2 separate regions of the Homo sapiens genome follow, and region 1 is linked to region 2. The links are contacts of gene promoters, found by promoter capture Hi-C in human tissues and cell types (Jung and others, 2019). All regions are on one chromosome and are shown on one strand. Each heading gives the region's core, a stretch centred on a gene start or on the middle of the fragment in contact. The rest is flanking DNA. Distances are from core to core; before and after follow the strand shown.

Region 1 (4,397 bases), core at 52-2,551, 140 kb before region 2:
GACTTGGTGTCTGCATTCCTGGGTTCGTGCTCTATTTCCACGCACAGGTGGAAGAAAAAGAAGGGCGAGGCCGCACAGTGCTAAGACGCAGGCTCTGGGATCACACTACCCGGACCCAATGCGCGAGGCTGCCCCTGGGGCTCCGCCCCATCTTCCCTCCTCAAACCGCCCCGTGCTCGTTCCTCCCCCTGGGCCTGTGAGGAGAACCCCTGGCTTAGCGTTTCTGTCCAATGCCAGAAACCAGCGGGTGGCTAGCTCCATTCTACCCAGCGCTCCTGACTGACCCTCATCAGCCACCAAAACTTTTTGTTGTCCTGGCTCAGTCTTGAGCGGATCGTTGCTAATGTTACTGATCATTTCACATTCCCAGATGATATTTCGGAGCCCCTCCGCTCCCCACCCGGCAGCCTTGTGAGTCACATTTTCACAGAGAACACACTGCTGGGAAACCTCCTGCTGAGCTCAATGTCTCACCTGGATTCTTGTTAGTTCTGATTTCCAATCTTCAGAGGTGGCATTTTCCGATTTTTCCTTCGTACAATGTATTCCTTCATTTGACAAATACGTGTTGAGTACTTGCCCTGTGACTGGCCCCGTGGACAGACACAATAGGGAAGCAAGATGGAATTCCAGGTCCCGAGAGGGTGAAAGAACGGGGGACGGCCTGGCGATCATGACGCCATCCACGGTTAGGTCTTCTTAGCAGGGGTCCAGGAACAGCTGGCTCCCTGAGCAGGGAAGAGTGCCAGCATAGCCAAGATGCTGAGAGTCCAAACCCCTCCGCAGACAGCGGGTGGAGGTGGGACCAACTGCTTTCTCTGAGAAGAGGATGAAATGCCAACATCCATGTGGATGCGCCAGAGGCAGCCAGAATCTGTGCCTGCCCCCTGTGGGTTTTCTTTTCTCTCTTTAAAAATGTTTTATTTTTAAATTTTGTGGGTACATAGTAGGCATATATATTTATGGGGTACATGAGATGCTTTGATACAGGCATGCAATGCGTGCTGATCACATCATGGACAATGGGGCATCCGTCCCCTCAAGCATTTATCCTTTGTGTTACAAGCAATATAATTACACTCTTTTAGTTATTTTAAAAGAGCTAGGGTCTTGTTCTGTTGCTCAGGCTGGTCTCAAACCTCTAGGCTCAAGCAATCCTCCCACCTCGGCCTCCCAAAGTGCTGGGATTACAGGTGTGAGCCACCATGTCCAGCCTCTTTATTTTATCTTTTTCCCGTTATCACGGGTTGAGGCTGCAAAGTGTTGTCAGTATCATCTGCTGGTCAGTGTGCAGGAAGTAACATCCCCAGGGAAACATGGAGCCCTGCGATGGCCCTGATGGCTTTTTAGATTACGATGGGCTGTGTTTGGAATGAATATAGTGGGAATTGCTAACCTGTGGTTTTCTCTCCTTTGACAGTGTCACCAGGTGAATTAGTACAAAAGGTAGGAGACAACTGCCCGCCCAGACCTCGTCAGGAGGAAAACGCAGGCCTCGCTTCTCAGCAACCCCCTCTAGAGCTCATCAGAGTAAAATCGTCCATTACAGTTTCTCAAATTCGCCACCTATGTGAAGACACAAAATGAAAACCCTAGAGACCCCGCCAGGCCCTCATTTCCTTCTCATCCCCAAATTTGTCCCTCCAGGAAGTGCAGCCAGGAAAGCCGGTGCTTGGAGCCTGGCTCACCCGCCGCGGAGCTGGGGACCTCGTGCACGTCACCGAGGCTCTCCGGGGCTGTTTCCTAATCTATGAAATGTGGTTCTTTACTCACAGGTCTGTTCTGAGAAGTGAATAACAGGACGTCTTCTGCATGCCCCGACCCCTGACAGCTTTCGGCCACTCAGCAAATGCAACGTCCTTCCTGGCTCAGGTTCTCTAGTTTGCTTCTGAAAGGGGCCGCACTTCTTGTCATATCCAATAAGGCCTGTTTTTGTTCTTTCCTAACGCACCTGCCTCACCTCTGAACAATATCATTTTTCTATTTTGGAAATGATGTATTTTTGGCATGAGGAAAATGAGAAAGTTTACCACCCGTGCTGAGAGCCGGCCTGCCTGGCAGTGGCTGAAGATGCTGGAGAGAGCTGCTCTGAACTTTGCTGACTGGAGCGAGACTTTGCATTTGGGAGACTTTATGCAGCTTGGAGCTCCACAAAGGCCGGTTCCTCCTCACTTCCACTCGATGCCTCCCTGCTGCTGTCCTGAACAACTGTCCTAACTTTGTTTGTGGAGTATTGTCAGAATTCACTTCTCCAAATGAAGTCTCTTCTTAGCACGAGACTTTGGGGTTTGCTCACTGCGGTGGCTGTCCAATGGTCGATGGCTGATGCCCTTGCAGCGTCTCAGTCCCTGGTGCCTGTGAGCTCCCCAGGGTTCCTGGATTCCTCAGTCCTGAATCAGGAGGAGAAGGTGGTAGGAGAGCCCATGTGTGTGGGTGGCCTCAGCCCCAACCCCCGACCTCCAGGGCTGCCCGTCTCCCCGTGTGAGGAGGGGCTGCACAAAGGGGTCCCTAGGTCTCTCCTGCTCAAGGTGCCTGTGCTCCCGTGACTGCAGCCGCTCATCGCCAAGTTCTGAGCTTCCACAGGCTCAGTCTCAACCACGGACCCGAGGGTCCCTTCTCTGTGGCACCACAATTCCAAACTTTCATTTCAGAAGGATGAGAGGCTATCTGGCCTAGCACTGGGCATCTGACCTAGCACTGGGCATCCGGATACTTCAGGTTTATGAGCTGAGTGCACAAATTGTAAGTGACACTTCAGAGGCTGCCAGATTGAGACAGATAATTAGCTACACCAGTTACTTTTGAAAATTTAATGGTATGTGATGAGCACGTGTTGGATCATCACTGGATGGATACCTTCTTCACACATATAAATGGTAATTTATCTACATGCAGATGGTTAAGTCAAACCACAGCCCACCCAACAGTTCTAGACAGATTCTCACCGGAAGCTTCTAGGGGGGCTCATTTGACAGAATTCCACGTCTCTAAGCAGACATGCCCGAAGGTTCAGACCCTGTGGCCGGAGAAGCGCGTGGAGCAGGGCTCCTCCCTCGCCCCGTCTGGTAAGTGCTGTGGAGTATTTCAGCTTTTCTTTATCCTCCAGAGGGGGCTTGCTTTTGCCACCTTGTTGTAGTTGTTTAAAATTCATACATACATGCAGACACACTGTTGCTGAGGTAACTTGATTCCCTCATGGAACCAGGAACCTGGAGACAGGGTTCCCATTGCTTTGGTTTGGCCTAGTGATGTGTCTCTGCCAGATGCACTCTAGGAGGTGCCTGCAGGGCCACGGGATGCTGGTCACTGCTATAGGAAAGAGGTGAGGCAGTGTCTGTGTGCAAGTTATGCTCAGGCCTTCAGACAGCGCAGCCACGAGGCACAAACTTCTAGGGATAGGCCACATCCAGACACAGCTCGGGGATGTCACAGGCTCACTTCCAGACCCCCGCAACAAAGCCAGACACACGCATTTTTGGGTTTCCCGTTGCATATGGAGGTTACATTTACACTGTACTGTCGTCTGTCTATTAAGTGTGCAACAGCATTATGTCTAAAAGACAATGTGCCTGTCTTCATTGCTAAAAATGCTGATGATCATCTGAGCCCTCAGTGAGTCCTAATTTTCTTGCTGGTGGAGGGTCTTGCCTCAGTGTTGGTGGCTGCTGACTGATCAGGGTGGTGCTGCTGAAGGTTGGGGTGCTTGTGGCAATTTTAAAAAACAAGACAACAATGAAGTTTGCCACATTGATGGACTCCTTTCATAAAAGATTTCTCTGTAGCATGCCATGCTGTTTGACAGCATTTTACCACATTAGGCTGTCTTTCAAAGTCAGAGTCATCCTCTCAAACCCTGCTACTGCTTTATCAACTAAATTTATGTGATATTCTAAATCGCTTATTGTGATTTCAACAATGTTTGCAGCATCTTCACCAGGAGTAGATTCCATCTCAGGAAACCACTTTGTTAGTCATAAGAAGCAATTTCTCATCCTTAAACTTTGATCCTGAGACTGCAGCAATTCAGTCCCCTTTTCAGGCTCCACTTCTAACTACAGCTCTCTCACTATTTCCCTTCCACCTGCACTTCCTTTTCCCACTGAAGTCTTAAACCCCTCAAAGTCATCCATGAGAGTTGGAATCAACTTCTTCCAAACTCCTGTTAACGTTCATATTTTGTCTCTTCTCATGAATCACTGTTTTCAATGGCATCTAGGATGGTGAATCCTTTCCAGGAGGTTTTCGACTTACTTTGCCCAGATCCATCAGAGGAATCACTGTCTGTTGCAGCTATCGTCTTCCCACACCAAGCCCGTATTCCTCCGTCTGCCTGGGCCTCATGTGGGCAAGCACACAGCTCCTTTGCAGTTCAAACAAGGGGTCAGTGATGCATCCCA
Region 2 (4,268 bases), core at 902-3,401:
CTATTTACTTTGTAAAGGTATTATAAAACAAACACAAAATCTAATAGAATTTTTTTTCTGAGCAGGAAAATGAACTTACTAACAGAATACATCGGTACTAATTTGGAGGCAACAGAGCTCTTTACTCCATTCATCTCTCCATACCCGGCTCCTCCGTTTCACACCCTTTGGTTTGGTTTAAGCGGATGCCTGTGGACTGTGCCGCTTCCTCCGAGGACGGCCTCCACCCGGGAAAGAGCCGTGATAGAAGGGCTTTATTTTTAAAGGTGTTGGTACATGTTCAAAGCTTAACCCTCTAACTACAGATAAAACTGCAATCGTTTTGACTAGAATTTGGGGTGGAAGAGATATTCAAAGAAATCAGCAAGATGAGGAGGGAGGCAGAGGTGGGGGAATCACACCATTGTGGCCCCACAGAGAAGAGGGGGCGATTTCCAGTCAGGATCCATCAGGGGAGCGAAAGGTGCCACAAAGATAGTAATTAACAGTCTACTAATGTGAGAAGAAGGCAGAACTACACAATGCTTCCTCTCAGAAGGCACCGTTTCTACCTTGTTCTTCACGCCCTCCGCGAAGTCAGCACAGGCCTGCCAAGCGGCCCTTGGGGGCTTAAGGAGGGCTCCCCCCACCCATCCTTTTGGTCTTGATCTTCCCCCTCCCCCACCACCGACCAAAATTCTACTTGTACTAAAGTAGTAACTAAAGAGAATCATACTGTTGGGCGTACTATGGCCATCTATGTTTAGTTATCTTACTATTGAAATGGTCAATGAGAGTTCCAACCAGGAACACAATATCCTAACAGAATTAAGGGGAAAACAATGCTGGAACTTCTGCCACCTTCAGCCCCATTTAAAAGAGCCCCGAGCTTGCTTCTTGCTCGTGACTGAACCAGCACCAGGCACTGACTTTGGGCTCCAAGTCCTCTGTTTTCATGCAGGACAAGTAAGTGGCTTAAATTTCAGAATTAAGGAAATTATATTGATGTAAAAAGAAAAACTTTGTTAAAGTGTAAAAGACATTAATAATACCTGACGTTCCTGGAATATGCACAGCAATGACTTCTTTTAGGACATTTTAGCAATGAAAGCAGCATTAACCGTGATAAAACCCGTTACTTTCCAAGGACCCGCTCCGCAAAGCGCCCACCCTCGAGGGAGGAAAGCCGAGCTGCGCCTCCGCGCAAGGCCAGGGAGTGTGGCTCGAGCCCCGCTGCAGACCGGGCGTCGCCGGTTAATCAATGACACTGTCGGGTCAGCAGCGCAGCCTCCCAGCTGCGGAGGGGCCGCGGATCGATCCAGACCTGCCTCGGCTGCGACGCGCACGAAAACCGCGCGCACCGCAAACCCGCTTCAGTCTCCAAGAGGAAAGCAAGAAACAAGGCTCGGGTTTTTTTCTTTCTTTTTTCTTTCCTTTTTTTTTAAGGTTCACAGAGGGAATAATTCAGAACTCCATGTGCGAAGGCACTTAATCAACAAACTTATGAGCAGTTAGTTCCTCCAGTGCCCTTGGGAAAAAGCAACTATTTCCAAAAGGAAACTTTATTTAACCGACGCCACGTCCCCCCGACACTAAAACTAACCAGTAAGTACAGGGAGGGACCGAGAGGCATCTGCGGCCAACGCCAACCCCGATCTCCCCGTGAAACGCGCAGCCCGCGCAGGCGCCCGCAGCTCCCAGCTCCCGGGACGGCCCCGAACGAGCTCATCGTTGACGCGTCCAGGAAGAAACGATCCCGTTTCCAGCAAACCCCGGACGGTGGGGCGCGGGGAAGGGCGCAGGCAGCCTCCCAACCCGAGTCCCGCAACCCGGCGGGACCGGAGCTCAGCGCTTCACGCTCTCCGGGAGGAAGCTCCGGACCCCGGGCGACCCCGCTCCCTCTCCCGGACCCCGCCCGCGCTCCAGCACCCGGGAGGAAGGCGAAGACCGGCGGGAGGAGCGCTCTTCTCGGAAGGGGAGAACCGGGTCCGAGGCGCCGTGGGGCGGGGGTCGCGGGCGCACTCACGGGGGCGAGCAGCCAGCAGGTCAGCAGCGCGGGAGGCAGCAGCGTCCGCATCCCGAGCTCAGCGTGCCGGGGGCCGCCCAGCGCCCGCCGCCTCCGTCCTAGGTCCCCGCGGTTCCGCCGCCTCCAGCATGGGCCGGGAGCGAGTGCGCGGAGACCTCGGGCCCCGCAGCTGTAGCCGAGCGCCCGAGCGCGGGGGCCGCCCCCTCCGTCCCGGCAGCTGGAGCGCGCTCAATGCACGCCCGTCCCCCACGCGCCCCGCCGCTCCGCCCCCCGCCCCTGTCCCCGCCCCGCGCTGCCCCAATCCTCGTCTCCCTCCTCCCCCGAGAACCCCCGCTCCGCGCCCCTCCTCACCGCCCCCCACTTCCCCTTCCGCTGCGCCCCGCGCCCTCTCCTCGCCCCTGGGCTCTCTGTCCCCGCCGCGCGCGCTCCCTCTGGTCTCCTCGACCCCCCCAGCCTCTCTCTCCGTTCTCCTCCCCTCTTCCCTGGCCCACGCCCCCCTCCCGGCCGCGCCTCCCCGATCTGTGGGCGGAGGGGCTGGGAAGCGGGGTGCTCAGTGCGCGCCCGGCTCCGAGTAGAGAGAACTGGGGGAGAGCGGCCGGCGCGGGGCCGGGAGAGGAGGACCGGGCCAGGTGTGCGCTCGGAAGGGGCGGATGCCTTTGCGGCCGCCTGTACCTGCCTTTCTAAACAACTGCGGAAGCCCAAGAAAGCGGCCAGAGACCCGTCCGGGGTGGGCGCGCCGTCTTTGTAGCCAGTGGGGCTAGGTTGGGGCATCTGAAAATGGAGAAAATCAGAGTGCTTTTTGGTGGGGATCCCCGCAGCCTCAAAGAGGACATCAGGTCGAACAGAAAGCTGGAGAAAAACGCAGACGGGGGTATAGGTGGGTCCCAGCCTCAGCTGGGTGGCGGGTTTTGTGTCCTGCGTTTGCAAAACGGGGGTCATTCTCTCCCCGCAAACGCGGCGGCGGGTGGGGAACGCTGGGCGGGGACTCACGCGGTGCCACTGGGGCCGCCCCGCCGCGCCCCACGCGGGACTGCGCGGCCTCCCAAGGCGCCCGCGTGACCAACCCAGGAGAGCTCGGCGTTCCCCAGCAAGTGGAAAGCACTGGAATGAGAGATACAAGTTAAGTTCGTGTTGTTTTAATTTTTTATTTGGAAATAATTTCAAACTTACACAAAAATTAGAAGAATAAGAATATTACAAATAACTCCTTTTTATCCTTTTTGTGGATTCGGTCATTAACATTTACCTCATTGGGCTTATCATTTGCTTCTCTCTGATCCCCCACCCCCCGTATTCACAGATATCGATTTTTCTATCATCTGATGTTTATCATCCACATTATCTATCATCTACCTATCCATCATCTACGTATCATCTATCGATCTGTCATGTACCTATCATCTATCATCTTCCTATCGATCATCTATCTGTAATCTGTCATCTATTATCTGTCATCTATCATCTACCTGTCCATCATCTACCTTTCATCTATCCATCTGTCAGGTATCTATCATCATGCGCCTATCATCTATCATCCACCTTTCCTCTATCACCTACCTGTCATCTATTATCTATGATCTATCCATCTATTATGTACCTATCATCTATCATTTGCCTATCTTTCATCTGTAATTTACCTATCTATAACCTGTCATCTACCTATTTATCATCTATCATCTGCTGTCATTTATGATCTATCCATCTATCATGTACCTATCATCTCTGTATCATGTATCAATCAGCTATCATCTACCTATCATCTCTCTGCGATCTATTACCTATCTATTACCTACCATCTACCTATTTATCATCTATCATCTACCTCTCTGTCATTTATCTATGATCTGTCATGTACCTATCATCTATTATCTTCCTATCGATCGTCTATCTGTAATCTATCATCTATTATCTGTCATCTATCATCTGCCTATCCATCATCTGTGATCCGGCATATCTGTGATCTACCTGGCTGTCATCTATCAATCACCTATCATCTGCCTATCTGTCATCTGGCTGGCATCTATCAATCACCTATCATCTGCCTATCTGTCATCTGCCTGTCATCTATCAATCTATCATCTGCCTATCTGTCATCTGCCTGTCATCTATCAGTCTATCATCTGCCTATCTGTCATCTGCCTGTCATCTATCATCTGCCTATTTATCATCTATCTGTGATCTATCATATCTGTGATCTGCCTGTCATCTATCAGTCATCTATCATCTGCCTATTTGTCATCTATCTGTGATCTATCATATCTGT

The links. Contacts are between HindIII fragments. The study calls those that stand out against the background at their distance.
Region 1: a contact is called between a fragment that was not itself captured here and the fragment with the promoter of VIPR2 in region 2, in 4 of the 25 tissues and cell types used here (H1 embryonic stem cells, bladder, liver and 1 more).

The regions. Positions count from the first base shown.
Region 1 is chr7:158,999,552-159,003,948 of GRCh38, forward strand. No RefSeq gene overlaps it. Among named protein-coding and RNA genes, the nearest start is that of LINC00689, 6.6 kb to the right of the region's middle. The HindIII fragment of the contact is 6,196 bases long and covers 1-4,397 here.
Region 2 is chr7:159,142,716-159,146,983 of GRCh38, forward strand. It overlaps VIPR2 (vasoactive intestinal peptide receptor 2), which reads right to left and starts at 2,152. Exons shown (of 13, transcript NM_003382.5): 1 at 2,006-2,152. The coding sequence starts at 2,056. RefSeq lists an enhancer at 3,950-4,268. The HindIII fragment of the contact is 14,641 bases long and covers 1-4,268 here.